3 separate regions of the Homo sapiens genome follow, and regions 1 and 3 are each linked to region 2. Evidence: promoter capture Hi-C in 16 types of primary human blood cells and fetal thymus (Javierre and others, 2016). All regions are on one chromosome and are shown on one strand. Each heading gives the region's core, a stretch centred on a gene start or on the middle of the fragment in contact. The rest is flanking DNA. Distances are from core to core; before and after follow the strand shown. Region 1 has its middle 17 kb from the start of CDH23. Region 2 holds the start of PSAP (prosaposin). Region 3 overlaps DNAJB12 (DnaJ heat shock protein family (Hsp40) member B12).

Region 1 (4,254 bases), core at 1,021-3,520, 470 kb before region 2:
TTGACCCTTAGCTTCCCTTGAAATCCTTCAGTCAGATGTCAAACTACCTTGCAAGCTTCTCTGCGGTTCTCCTCCCACCCTGTCTCCCAGCCAAAGGACCTGAGACCCTAGCAACAGGCTTAATAGGGCTTTTCTGGCCATAGGAGCGATTTTAGCCTGAGTCAACTTGAGTGCCAGAGGGTGAATGCCCTCAGAAGCAGCTCCCAAATACTGATGAACAGGGAGTTGGTGGATAAATTCCCTAGCTTCCTCATCCCTCAAGTGAGATCATGCTGAGACACTTTGTGGTTCTTAGGGTGTAGTCCCAAACCAGCAGCAAACTGTACCACTTGAGAACTAGTTAGAAATGCAAATTCTTAGCCTACTACTACCCTGTACCTACTGAATCTAAAATTGTAGGGGCTGGGGCCCAGTCATTGGTGTTTTAACAAGCCCTCCTAGTGAGTCTGTGCTGAAGTTTGAGAACGACTGTTCTGCTAGGCTGTTCCCCAGAGCTCCCTTATGGGCTTGAGCTCCCGTTGTCTACAATGGTAACCTGCTTGATAACACATCTTTTTTTGGTCTCCTTCCCTTTCTTGTCTCACTTCCTCATTCTTCAGCTGGAGCTTCCTGAATTCACTTCTAATAAACGACTTGCACTTTAATCCTTGTCTGGGATCAGCTTCTAGAGAAACACCACCTTAGATGAGAACAACTAGGGGAGGTGTCATTGCCCAGTGAGGAGGAGGACGATGGCTGGCTTCAGGGAGGACCAAATGCTCTGCCAAATGCTTTGCTCTCATTGTCTGCTTCACCCTCACAATGCCTCAGTTGAGAGGGAGATGTTGCCCCCCAACGGGGAAACTAGGGTTTGGAGGATTTAAGTGGCTTGCCCAAGAATTTGAATCCAGGTCTGAGTCCAAAAGGTGAGCTCCTTACCAGTGAGGGCAGAGGGCCAGCCCATGTTTTGCTCTCTTGTCATTCCTCCTCTTCTCAGAGCAGGCAAGCGTTAAATGAAAATTGTAGGAGGCCATTGTTTTGGACTAAGTTTCTGAATTAGGCCCCAGCAGACCAGGCTAAAAATCCAAAGGGAGTCACCCATGCTAAAGTTCCATGGCACTAAACCCAAACTAAGTAGTTACCTGAAAAGAGGTAACAGCCAATGTCCCAAACAGGCCAGTTCAAATCTCAATGGTCACAAGAGTGAATCCCCTCTGCTTTATTCCTTATATGAAAGAAGTAGCGTTGAGTAACCTGATGCTAATGAATCAGTTGTTTTTCTATCATTCTGTCTCCCTGTCCCCACCTCGTGAGGGAAGTGGCTCTGAAGCAACTAATAGGCTCTTTGTTCTTCTCTTCTGTTTCCTTCAGCCCTCTCTGTCTATAAAACCAACTCCCTCTGCTCAGCTTATCAGAACACTTATTCTATTTTATGGAATGAAGTGTTGCCAGATTCTATAATTGCAATAAAGCCATTTGAGATCTTTAAGCTAAATTTCTTATCATTTTGTCTTTTGATACAGGGATCCAGTTTTGTTGTGAGGAGTGCTATAGGCTGGACACTTTGGAAAAATCCCGAGTGCACTTTGTGGACACTGCTGGCCTGAAATAGTGGGGCACACTGGCCTGAGAGCTCCCTGGCTCCCAGTGCCTAAGGTCCTTTACCCCATACTCCCTCAAGGTCCATCCCTATACCCTCCAGCCCACAGCATGTGACCAAGCATGTGCCCCTTAACCTGGAGCTGGAACCCTTCCTTTCACAGATACCTGGAAATTGAGCCAGATCTGCATCCGAGGGACACTAGAAGGGATGGGGAGGAGCGCTTACCCCTGAACTCTGTTTTGTCTCATGTTTGGAGGCCCAAGGTCATTTGGTTCTTCAGATTTCCAGCAAACTATAGCTCTCACTCCCTTCCCGCATGCCCTCACCCCACGGCTTTTACACTTAAGAGGAATGGCCCTGCCTTCTCTGGGCCCACAGCTCCTGTGGCTTGAGGTTCCAGCCGTCTTGTTAACAATTTTTCTCCCTGCGATGTAGGAATGATGGCTGTGTTAACAGGTCGGGGGGCGGTTGGGGAGACACTAACAAGATGATAAACCTTGGTATTTGGCTCTGCTGCTGACTTTGAGCGAGTCCTTTTTTACCTCTCAGAGCCTTATTTTTCTCATCTGTAAAGTGGGGAGTCCTGCTCCCCTCCCCTGAGGTTGTTCTAATGAGGCCGTGCTCATAGTAGGTAAATAATGTACACACACAACATGGGCATGCACAGCGATGGGTGCAGGTTGCAATTGGGACTTCCCTCTGTTCCCTCCATCACAATTGATGAGGGACTTTGGGGCTGATCTTGACTTCTCCAGGATCCTGGTCTCCCAGTAGGTTGCTAGTGATGCTCAAAAGGTAGGGGTCTCTCCCCAGGACACTGCCAGCCTGCCCTTCTGGGAGGAAGGAGACAGAAAGGGTTACTTTGGCAATCACGAGGCTTAAGGATGCCCCAATGCTTCACCCTGTCCCAAACCGACCCCCTACTCCCACCCCCAAGTCTAAAGTGGGTCCCTCTACAATAATCTCTCATCACGCCATTCATTCTTCCTTTGTGGCACTTATTATAAGTGCTAATTATTTATCAATATTTGTTTTTTTAAACAAAACTTTATTATGAAAAGTTTCCAACATTTACCAGAAAAACCCAAAACAGAACAGTATCACAGACTCCATATACCTATCACCCAGCTTCAACAATGATCAACTCGAGGTCAATCTTGTTTTATCTCTACCCCTACTCACTCCTGCCTCCTAGTATTAATTTGAGGCAACACATTTGTAAATGTTTTGGTAGGTATTGCTAAAAATAAGGGCTCTTGTATAAAACATAACCACAAATACATGTCATTATACATTTATCCAAACCCACAGAATGTACAACACCAAGAGTGAACCCTAATGTGAGCTATGGACTTGGGGTGATGATGGTGTGTCAGTGCAGGCTCACTACTGTATCAAATGCTCTGCTCTGCTGGGGGATGTTGATACTGTGGCAGGCTGTGCACAACGTGGGGGCAGTCTCTGTACCATCTTCTCAATTTTCCTGTGAACTTAAAACTACTCTAAAAAAGTTAAGTCTTAAAAAATAAAATCAAAAGAGCAAAGCTCCTGTTATTAAATCTAAAAAATGAACAATAATTCTTTGGTATGTGATTATTGTTAAATGTGTATCTCCCTCCACTGGGTTGGGAGCCTCATGAGAGCTTGCGTGAGGCCTACTAGGTCCTTGGTGAGTAATTGTTGGATGGATGGATGGATGGGTGGATGAATGGATGGAAGGATGGATGGATGGAGAAAAGGCAAAGGGAGCTGGGAGCCCACTTTGCTTTCCATGGATGCTGTCTGATCCCTTCAACACTGGGGTGTGATCACTGCCTTGCAGGTCCACAGACTGTCTCATCCTCTTGGATGTGAGCACCACCATGGAGCTGAAAACCTTTCTCAGTTTTTTTCGCTCCTAACCTGCCTTCCACAGAATCAGGCAAGTAGTCGCTAATCCTCTCCTGTTGGCTGCAGCCTGCTCCCACTGTGCAGCTAATTCCACCTTCCAACTTAATCATCATGCTTAGCACTTTCAATAAGGGCTTTTCATCTTCAGAGCACTGCTCAGCCATTAGCTGATTACTGTAATCTGTCCAACTCCCAAGACGTCAACCAGCATGGCAATGAGAGGCTTCCCTTATTCTCTTGGAGACTCAGTTTCCTCATCTGTAAAACTGGGTTAATATACCTAACTGGCATGGTCGGTGTAGGGTTTCAGTAAAATAAAGTCCAGAAAGTGTCTGGCACTGTCCTTTGACACCTAACAAGCCCTCAGTAATTGTTTATTATCTGTTTCCTGTATGGTGCAGAGGTTAACTCTCATTGGAGAGCCCAGAAAAATCTGGATTTGAATCCAGCTTCCTCCGCTTAAAGTTACATTTCCTGAGCCTCAGTTTTCTGATCTCTAAAATGGGGGTGATGGCACTGCCTCAGTTGGCTGAAAGATCAAATGATGTGACATATGTGTGTGATGTGCTGGGCACAATGTGAGTCACCTAGGAAGTCCTTCCTGGAAGGAAATGGAGGCAGGGAAGGAGAAGGAGGCTGTAGTGCTCCTTGGGAAGGTGCTAGATAATTCTTTTCTCCTTTGTCCCTCAAGATGTTTGAGGGGAAGAAAGATGCCTATTGTACTCACCATTACAACCCCAGCCAACTACCCCCTTGCCCAGCTGTGTGCTCAAAAAAATAAG
Region 2 (4,765 bases), core at 290-2,789:
TTGCCCAGGCTGGTCTCCAACTCCTAGGCTCAAGCGATCCTCCCACCTCGGTGTCCCAATGTGCTGGGATTACAGGCATAAGCCACCGCACCCAGATGCAAGACATTTCAAAGCAAGTGAAATGAGGACCCCATGGCAAAATAACTGGACCAGAAAACCCTATATCGCCTTCAATACCTATGAGAATTAAGCTCCGATTTTTTTTAGCTTGCCCAAATTCCTATCTAAGGGGTGTAGGAATCATACCCTACAAACCATAAACTCTCATCAGATGGGTTTTATTTGACCCCATATATCGTGACTTACTTTCCAATCTGACTCTGGCATAACATTTTATAAGACAAGGAAAAAAAAATCAAAATATCTAACCCCAAAATATATTTCCTTGCCATACCTTGAAATTGCCCTGCAAAGTCTCTTGTGGGAAAAATCCACATTCTATAGAGAATCCCCTTTCCCCTATGTTTTCCTTCCTTCCTCTCCAGATCCAGGAGATAATCAACTAAGAGCCAGTCACCCTTTCATTTCCATAGAAATATTTTACAACGTGCTCGCTCTCTTAGTCGGCTACCTGAGAGCTTCCTCTGCACAATAAAACTTGGTCTCCACAATCCTTTATCTTAACTTGAATACTTTCTTTCTATTGATTCTAGGTTTTCAGATAAACTCAACCAATTATCAACTAGAAAATGTTTAAATTTACCTATGGCCTGGAAGCCCCCCGCCGCTTTGAGTTGTTTCGCCCTTCTGAACCAAACCAACGTATTTCTTAAATGTATTTGATTGATGTCTCGTGCCTCCCGAAAATATGTAAAACCCAGCTGTATCCCAACCACCTTAGGCACATGTTCTCAGGACCTCCTGAGGGCTGTGTCACGGGCCATGGTCACTCATATTTGCCTCAGAATAAATCTCAAAATATTTTTACAGAGTTTGACTCGTTTTGTCAACACCTAGAATCCAGAGTAAATACATATGCAAACGTCAATATAGATGATACACATGTGCTTCCTGCAGCTTCGCTACCCTTACAAACAGGCAACTGAAGCCAACGGCCAAAGTGTCCTGCGGGACGGGGCTCCAGCCCACCTCGATCACGTGCGCCCAGCACAGGCACAACACAGCTGCCCAAGGGGTCACCCTACAAGACTCACCCACCCCCACAGTGGGAAGCGCAGCCTGAGGGAAGGCCTCGGGGCCCCAGCCGCGCAGGAACCCACTCGAGCCCCGAAGGAGATGCTGCCCAGGGCCTGGGCCGTCCTCCCGGGGGCATTTTCGCAGCCCGCCCCCCGCAGCCCCCAGCCGCCCAGAGAAAGCCAGAGAAAGCCAGCGAACGCGCCTGCGCAGTGCGCGCGCCCCCTTGCCAACTAGGGCAGGGGGAGCAGAGGGGCCAGGCCCGGCACAGCCCATTCTGGGGCAGATGGACGCTGCGAGGCACCTCCTCCCCAGGATGAGGGTCCCAGGGCTTACCCGCGCCCAGGAGGCTGGCCAGGAGGAAGAGGGCGTACATAGCGCCGTCTGACTCCGCAGTCTGCAATGCGGAGCGTCAGCTGATCCCCCGCAGATATAAATCTGCCCTGCCCCAAAGCCGTCCAGAGCGCAGGCGCTAACCCCGCCCCATCCGGGCCTGCCCGAGCTCAACAGCGCCCTGACTCAGCGCCTCTGAGGGCGCCTGCGCGAAGGGGAGGCCAATAGGAGGGGGCAATGGGAGGGGCGAAAGGAAGGGCTATGGGGAGGAGTGAGGAAGAACTTGGAGAAAGGGAAGGGAAAGGTCATAAAAGAAAAGCCCTACTAATTGAATAGGTCAGAGATTATATATGTAAAATACCTTTTAAATCTCCACATTGTTGGCCGGCCGCGGTGGCTGACGCCTGTAATCCCAACACTTGGGAGGCCGAGGCGGGCGGAGGGTTCAAGACTAGCCTGGGCAACGTGGTGAAACCCCATCTCTACAAAAAAAAAAATACAAAAAAATTAGCCCATTGTAGTAGCGGGTTTCACATAGAATAGCTTGGGGTTTCACATAGAATAAGTAGTCGTGTAACAGGGTACAGGGCTCAGTCCTGGCCAGGGGCACGTGGGGGCAGGTGGTGGCACCTGGTCAAAGGCAAGTCTGGGCTGGGCATGCTGGCTCACTCCTGTAATCCTAACACTTTGGGAGGCCGAGGCGGGCGGATCATGAGGTCAGGAGTTCAAGACCAGCCTGGCCAATATGGTGAAACCCTGTCTCTACTAAAAATACAAAAATTAGTCAGGCGTGGTGGCGCTCGCCTGTGGTTCCAGCTATTTCAGGAGGCAGAGGCAGGAAAATTGCTTAAACCCGGGAGGTGGAGGTTGCCGTGAGTCAAGATCGCACTACTGCACTGCAGCCTGGACCACAGAGCGAGAGAGATTCCCATCACCAAAAAAAAAAAAACAAAAAACTTTTAAGCCTCACATTGTGGTACCGTTAAAGATGTAATACCATTCCTCACCCATCATAAGAGATCATAAGAGTCACAACCAACACTCCTGTAACGAGACAGCTTAAGAGAAAAGCATAACAAATTTATGTAATCAACGTTTTATGTGACATGGAAGCCTTCAGAAATTAAGACCCAAAGACCCTCTGCCTGTGGCTGCCCCTGCCAGGACCTGAACAGAGAATGATGATGACCCTCTCCAGAAGGATAAGAACCTGCCAACCGCAAGGCAGGGAAAGGAGGGGAATCTTAGCCCCTTAGGGCAGGCACTTAGAGGTCATTTACCTGTAGGGACATTGAGCCTAGGAGAGGGCAAGACGTTTATCCAAGGTCACACAACAGGTAGAGATAGAACCTGGCCCGAAGCCAGGTTTCCTGACCCAGGAAGGGCAAACCTACAGTTCCTCCAACTTCCTCCAATCTGCAATCCGCTCTGGAGAACAACCCCAGGGACTAAGGCCTCAGAACCTTCAGTTCTGCTCCCCTGCAATCTCCCTAAGTGCCCCCAGCCCCCACCACAGCTCTGACTTCCTCTGGGGAGCCAGATGGGGAAGTGTGCCCCATGCACCACAGTGGGCCATGTGAGGCAGCTGAGTGAGTTGGGACAAGATGTGGTCTCAACTGGACGCCTCACAGGTCGGCCTCAGTGGCCAGATGGAGACTTCGTGGCTGCTCCACCTTTGGGCTTCCCAAGGCCAGGCAGAAGCGTGGGGCAGACCACACAACAACTGGTTAAAAGCAAGGGAGCTAGCCGGGCGCGGTGGCTCACGCCTGTAATCCCAGCACTTTGGGAGGCCGAGGCAGGCAGATCACGAGGTCAGGAGATCGAGACCATCCTGGCTAACAGGGTGAAACCCCGTCTCTACTAAAAATACAAAAAATTAGCCGCACGATGTGGCGGGCGCCTGTAGTCCCAGCTACTCGGGAGGCTGAGGCAGGAGAATGGCGTGAACCCGGGAGGCGGAGCTTGCAGTGAGCCGAGATCGTGCCACTGCACTCCAGCCTGGGCAACAACAGCGAAACTCCGTCTCAAAAAAAAAACAAACAAAAAAAGCAAGGGAGCTGGGGCTCTAGGACAAATCCCCCATCCTTCAGCTCCTTGCAGATGGAGGAGCAAAGCATCCCAGTGCTCCATGCAGAGGTTACAGGACCCCAAGCCAAAAGGACGCTCAGAGACCTCAGATCATCCCCTCTCATCTTATAGAGCTACTGACATCTCAGGGCTGGTTAACAACAGAGCCTGAACCAGGACTTGTTTTTTTTGTTTTGTTTTGTTTTGTTTTGTTTTGTTTTTTGTTTGGAGATGGAGGCTCACTCTATCACCCAGGCTGGAGTGCAATGGTGCGATCTCAGCTCACTGCCACTTCTACCTCCCAGGTTCAAGCAATTCTCCTGCCTCAGCCTCCAGAGTAGCTGGGATAACAGGTGCACGCCACCACACCTGGCTAGTTTTCTTGTATTTTTTGGTAGAGACAGGATTTCACCATGTTGACCAGGCTGGTCTCAAACTCTGACCTGAAGTGATCTGCCTGCCTTGGCCTCCCAAAGTGCTGGGATTACAGGTGTGAGCCACCACACCCCTCCTTTTTTTTTTTTTTAAATATTCCTCCTTCATACCTAGAGGAATATGTCAGTGTTTTTGAGAGAAACTTTTGCTGCCTTTCATCTCCTCACCTGTAACTCAACAGTAATATGCTGCTTCATCCGCCTCGTCCTGAACCCCATGAGGACAGAATTTTAACAAAGAATATAAAAGCAATAAGTAGATTATTATTAATTTTTTTACCTTGTCAGTAGACGCTTAAATCCTCTTAAAAAAAAAAAAAAAAAACCTTCTGAACCATCTGCGTGTAGGCAACAAGAGCTGTGAAGCTCCTCAAACCCTCTGGCTCTCTTATGCCTTTCCTAGCTATGTACCCTCAGGGAAATACTCCAGAAGTGAAGGAATATTTTGTCCGAAGTGTTCACAGAAGGGCCCTTTAGAAACATGGAAGCTGGAAAGATCCCAAGTGCTGAACAATGAAGAGATGACTGTGGAAACTGGCTGGACAGAGCAACGGTACTGAAGCAGCTTTGAAACAGGAGGAGGAGGGAGCAAGGGCTAGGCTGCAGCAAGTCTTCCAGGAACGTGGGTCCCAAGAAACATGGGCAGAGTGAGAGGCCAAACCCCATCTGCTAGTAAGCCCTGCTGCTGACTTCCCAGAGAGGATGGCAGAACTGGTGGAGAGCTTCTAGATCCTGGATCCCATCGGGCGCAGTGGCTCACACCTGTAATCCCAGCAATTTGGGAGGTCGAGGCGGGC
Region 3 (4,517 bases), core at 568-3,067, 490 kb after region 2:
CAAAACTCTGTGTGTATATGTGTGCGTGTATGTGTGCATGTGTATTATGTGTGTGCATGTATTGTGTGTGTGTGTACATGTGTATCGTGTGTGTGTATGTGTGTGTGCACATGTGTGCATAGTTTTAGGGAAAAGTTCTGTAGCTCTCGCTGCAATTTCTTAGGGGACCATAATCCTAAAAAGCTTAAGAGTCCTAGTTGAATAGAGAAAGTATATTTTCTTGATTCGAAGCCAGGTTTCTGCATTATGATCGCACACTGGCTGGATCAGGATGGGAAAGAAGGCCCCTGATGGGGCTGAGAATTTAAAGCCCCTTGTCTGCCCATGGCCCGGCCTCACCCATGTACTCACGGTCTTGGACTCAGACTGTAGGGTGGACTGGAGACCATGAGCTGGCTGAGAGCTGACACGAGAATCAGGATGAGGATAGGCATCAGCTGCACAAACACCCCTAGCCCGCCCTGGAGGGAAGAGCCAATGTCACTCTGCTGGACCTGGGTGGGGTGTGGTGTCAGCCATAATCACCACTAGCTCCCCTAGAATAGTGGAGCCTGGGGAGACATGACACCACTCTGCCGTTCCCTCCACGAGGCTCCAAAACACAGACGCTCCTTCACCTGCCAGCTTTCCCAGATAAAAACAAAGCAGCAACTGGTGTGAAATACAGGAGGAAGTGAGGTGTCTGCATTTACTTTTGACAGAATGCCAAAAAAAAAAAAAAATCAGCAAAAGTTGCTTCCTCCAGGAGAATGGAAGGCAGGGCTGGAAGGAGACATGCAGTATATACAAGTTTTTGAGATGTGAACCACACAAATATATTACCAATTTAAACATTATGGCCAGTGTGGCGGCTCATGCCTGTAATCCCAACACTTTGGGAGACCAACATGAGAGGAACACGTGAGGCCAGGAGTTCAAGACCAGTCTGGCCAACATACACCCCCATCTCTACAAAAAATAATAATTAAAACAAAATAAAAATTAGAAATAGCACTGGTTCTAGGGTGCAGAAAAAGCAAACAAACAAAAAAAGAAGAATTAGAAATAAAAATTAACAAATATATTCACTGTGTGATAATCTGTGATGTTAAACTCTTCTGTTGTTAGATACAAAATAAAAAAATTTTGATCAGGGGCAATGGCTCATGCCTGTAATCCCAGCACTGTGGGAGGCTGAGGCAGGAGGACCACTTGAGCCCAAGAGTTTGAGACCAGCCTGTGCTCAAACAGCAAAGTAAGACCCTATCTCTACAAAAAATACAAAAAATTAGCTGGGTGTGGTGGTGTGGGCCTGTGGTCCCAGCTACTGGGGAGCCTGAGGTGGGAGCTTTGCCTGGGAGGGGAGGCTCCTGCACTCTAGCCAGGGTGACAGAACGAGACCCTGTCTCAAAAAAAAAAAAAAAAGGCCGGCATGGTGGCTCACGCCTGTAATCCCAGCACTTTGGGAGGAAGGGGCAGGCAGATCACGAGGTCAGGAGTTCGAGACCAGCCTGGCCAACATGGTGAAACCCCGTCTCTACTAAAAATACAAAAATTAGCTGGGTGTGGTGGCGGGCGCCTGTACTCCCAGCTACGTAGGAGCCTGAGACAGGAGAATCACTTGAACCTGGGAGGCAGAGGTTGCAGTGAGCCAAGATTGTGCCACTGCACTCCGGCATGGGCAACAGAGCGAGACTCCATCTCAAAAAATTAAAAAAAAAAAAAATTGAATAAATATTGTCAGAGCAAAAGGAAACCCCTTCCGCCTGGCCAGAATTTAAAATGTTTTGCAATTGTCCACAATATTTTAATTTTAGCCAGCTAGCTGTTCTTTGATCTGTGGCATACAAAATGTGTTTGAAGCACTGTCTAGTTATAATTTTTATACTTTTTTTTTTTTTTGAGACGGAGTCTTGCTCTGTTGCCTAGGATGGAGTGCAGTGGCACGATCTCGGCTCAACACAACCTCTGCCTCCTGGGTTCAAGTGATTCTCATGCCTCAGCTTCCCGAGTAGGGATTAAAGGCGCCTGCCACTACGCCCAGCTAATTTTTGTATGTTTAGTAGAGACGGGGTTTCACCATGTTGGCCAGACTGCTCTCAAACTCCTGACCTCAGGTGATCTACCCACCTTGGCCTCCCAAATTTTTGTAAATATCTTTTTAAAAGTATCTTTTGGCTTTTTAGCAAGAAGAGTCGGCACCTATGTTGTCATCCTTTAAAATTCTCTCAGTGGCAGAGCGCAGTGGCTCACGCCCATAATCCCAGCACTTTGGGAGGCTGAGGCGGGTGAATCACCAGAGGTCAGGAGTTCAAGGCCAGCCTGGCCAACATGGTGAAACCCCATCTCTACTAAAAATACAAAATTAGCCGGGGGTGGTGGCACGCACCCGTAATCCCAGTTACTCGGGAGGCTGAGGCAGGAGAATGGCTTGAACCCGGGAGGCGGAGGTTGCAGTGAGCCGAGATCGCGCCACTGCACTCAGCCTGGGCGAGAGAGCAAGACTCCATCTCAATTAAAAAAAAAGAAATTTCTCTCACAAAGTTGAGAGAAAATAGCTGAGACCCATGAAAAAAATGAAAAATAAAATAAAATTCTCTCACAAAGTGTAACTTTCCATTGCTTAGAGGATGTCACTTTGGCCTTACCAGCGAGCGGTCTGCATGGGAGCCTCACACTCAAACCTGGCTGTGGGTGGGGTTTCTGGTTCCACTCCCCAGCCAGGCCAGCAAAGCCGCGCTCCCGCCGGCAATGTGGAGCATGGCTCCCTCGTGTGGCGCCCTCTGGTGTCACTCAGCAGAATGGCAAGGGAGGCCCAGAGGGCTCCTTGGCTGAGAGTTATGGGGACTCTGCTGGTCCCAGAATGGACAGTGTGGGAGGGAACACCCTCCTCCAAGCCCCCTCCCTGGGGTGGATTTGGTGCCCTTCCCGCGCTGTCCCTGGCGCCCTCCTCACTCACATCACCCTGGTTGTCCCTGCGGTCCTGCCTTTGCTGGTAGGTATAGCGCATGCGGCCGTTGCTGTAGACGTGGACGTTACCTGGGGGTCAGAGGGGCTGAGTCAGGAGCCAGGTCTGTTGGGAAAGGGAGAGGCTGGCATGCCATTCCCACCATCACCCCAGGGATACCTGGCTGTGGGGAGGGTGGGGAACTTACTAGAAGGGAAGCCGCCGCCAAAGAACATGTTGAAGAGGTCTTCAGGGGAGATGTCGGCCTCAAAGCCACGGTGGAAATCCCCATGCCCATGGCCGTGCCGGGCCGCCTGGCTCTTGTCATCGCCGAACTGGTCATACTGCTTCCTCTTCTCCGGGTTGCTGAGTACCGCATATGCTGTGCCAATGGCTGGAGAGGAGGAGGAAAGGTCAGGCCTGAGGATCCTGGGGTGCGGGGGGAGGCTCCCATGGCAGCCGAGTGCTCACTTTTCTCAGGTACTCAAGCAGTGCTTTAGGAAGCAGACGTCCTTGGGGTGGGCAGGAAGCTTGGCCAGTGTAAGGAGGGGGCATGCAGGAAGACCCCTCAGTGGATCTGGGCAGCCTGGCTGGGTGGAGGGTAACACAGGCTCCTTGTTCTCCTCAAGACAATGGTCAAGCTTTGTCAATGTGCCAGGCCTCCTAGGAGTGTGGCCTCATTTACTTCTTTTTGTTTGTTTATTTTATTTTTTGAGGCAGGGCCTCACTCTGTCACCCAAGCTGAGTGCAGTGGAGCAACCGTGGCTCACTGCAGTCTCAACTTCCTTTGCTCAAGCGATCCTCCCACCTCAGCCTCCTGAGTAGCTGGGACTACAGGCGTGAACCACCACACTCAGCTAATTTTTTGTATTTTTTGTAGAGATGAGGTCTTGCCAAGTTGCCCAGGCTGGTCTCAAACTCCTGGGCTCAAGGGATCCTCCCACCTTGGCCTCCCAAAGTGCTGGGATTATAGACATAAGCCACCACACCAGGTCAACTCATTTACCTCTAAGAGCAACCCTATCTCCATTTCACCAATGAGAAAACTGAGGCTCAGAGAAGTGACTGCCTAAGCTTACACAGCTTTAATATGTTACAGAGCTGGGAGTCAAACAAAAGCAGGTGTCTCTTGCTTCAAGTTCTCTCTCCGACTTTATGAAAACCACCAAAAACCTCTTTCCTCATTCTCTCTTGACGTGCCCAATAGGATGGGCATCCCTTTCTGGAGGTTCTGTAAACCTGAAGTCATAGTCTGACATGCAGGCCAGACAGACACACAATATCCTTATTGTGAACTGGAAAGCAGCAGGAGCTGTGGGGAAGGGCCAAATCTCGGGGCTCTATGGAGACTCCTCCACTTCTGGTGATGCAGCTGGGGTGAGTCCCCCACTCTCTGGGGTCCAGGCCCCAACCGTTATTTCCTATCTGGGCCTGGAGCCTCCCACCAGGGCCCCCTAGCCGGGACGGCTGTGCCCTGAAGGACCCCAGCTCTGACCTCCTCAGTCTCTCACTCCCTCTCCTCAAGCTGCCACTGACTCCGAGGAGTGGGTCCAAGCCACATCTGATTCCCATCCTGAAACCCCCGGGAATA

Evidence for each region. The method cuts DNA at HindIII sites, captures the fragments that hold promoters and counts their contacts. A CHiCAGO score of 5 or more calls a contact.
Region 1: a contact is called between a fragment that was not itself captured here and the fragment with the promoter of PSAP in region 2, in 8 of 17 cell types (naive CD4 T cells, naive CD8 T cells, neutrophils and 5 more). The highest score is 7.9, in naive CD4 T cells.
Region 3: a fragment that was not itself captured here is called in contact with the fragment with the promoter of PSAP in region 2 in 1 of 17 cell types (fetal thymus); the score reaches 5.4 in fetal thymus.

Annotation. Positions count from the first base shown.
Region 1 is chr10:71,378,264-71,382,517 of GRCh38, forward strand. It overlaps a transcript of SLC29A3 not described here. Among named protein-coding and RNA genes, the nearest start is that of CDH23, 17 kb to the right of the region's middle. The HindIII fragment of the contact is 4,435 bases long and covers 54-4,254 here.
Region 2 is chr10:71,849,712-71,854,476 of GRCh38, forward strand. It overlaps PSAP (prosaposin), which reads right to left and starts at 1,540. Exons shown (of 14, transcript NM_002778.4): 1 at 1,471-1,540. The coding sequence starts at 1,510. RefSeq lists enhancers at 1-298, 690-1,220, 1,221-1,751. The HindIII fragment of the contact is 9,568 bases long and covers 1-4,765 here.
Region 3 is chr10:72,337,851-72,342,367 of GRCh38, forward strand. DNAJB12 (DnaJ heat shock protein family (Hsp40) member B12) reads right to left here. Exons shown (of 9, transcript NM_017626.7): 4 at 3,135-3,320; 5 at 2,939-3,018; 6 at 352-461. Among named protein-coding and RNA genes, the nearest start is that of DNAJB12, 15 kb to the right of the region's middle. The HindIII fragment of the contact is 3,273 bases long and covers 182-3,454 here.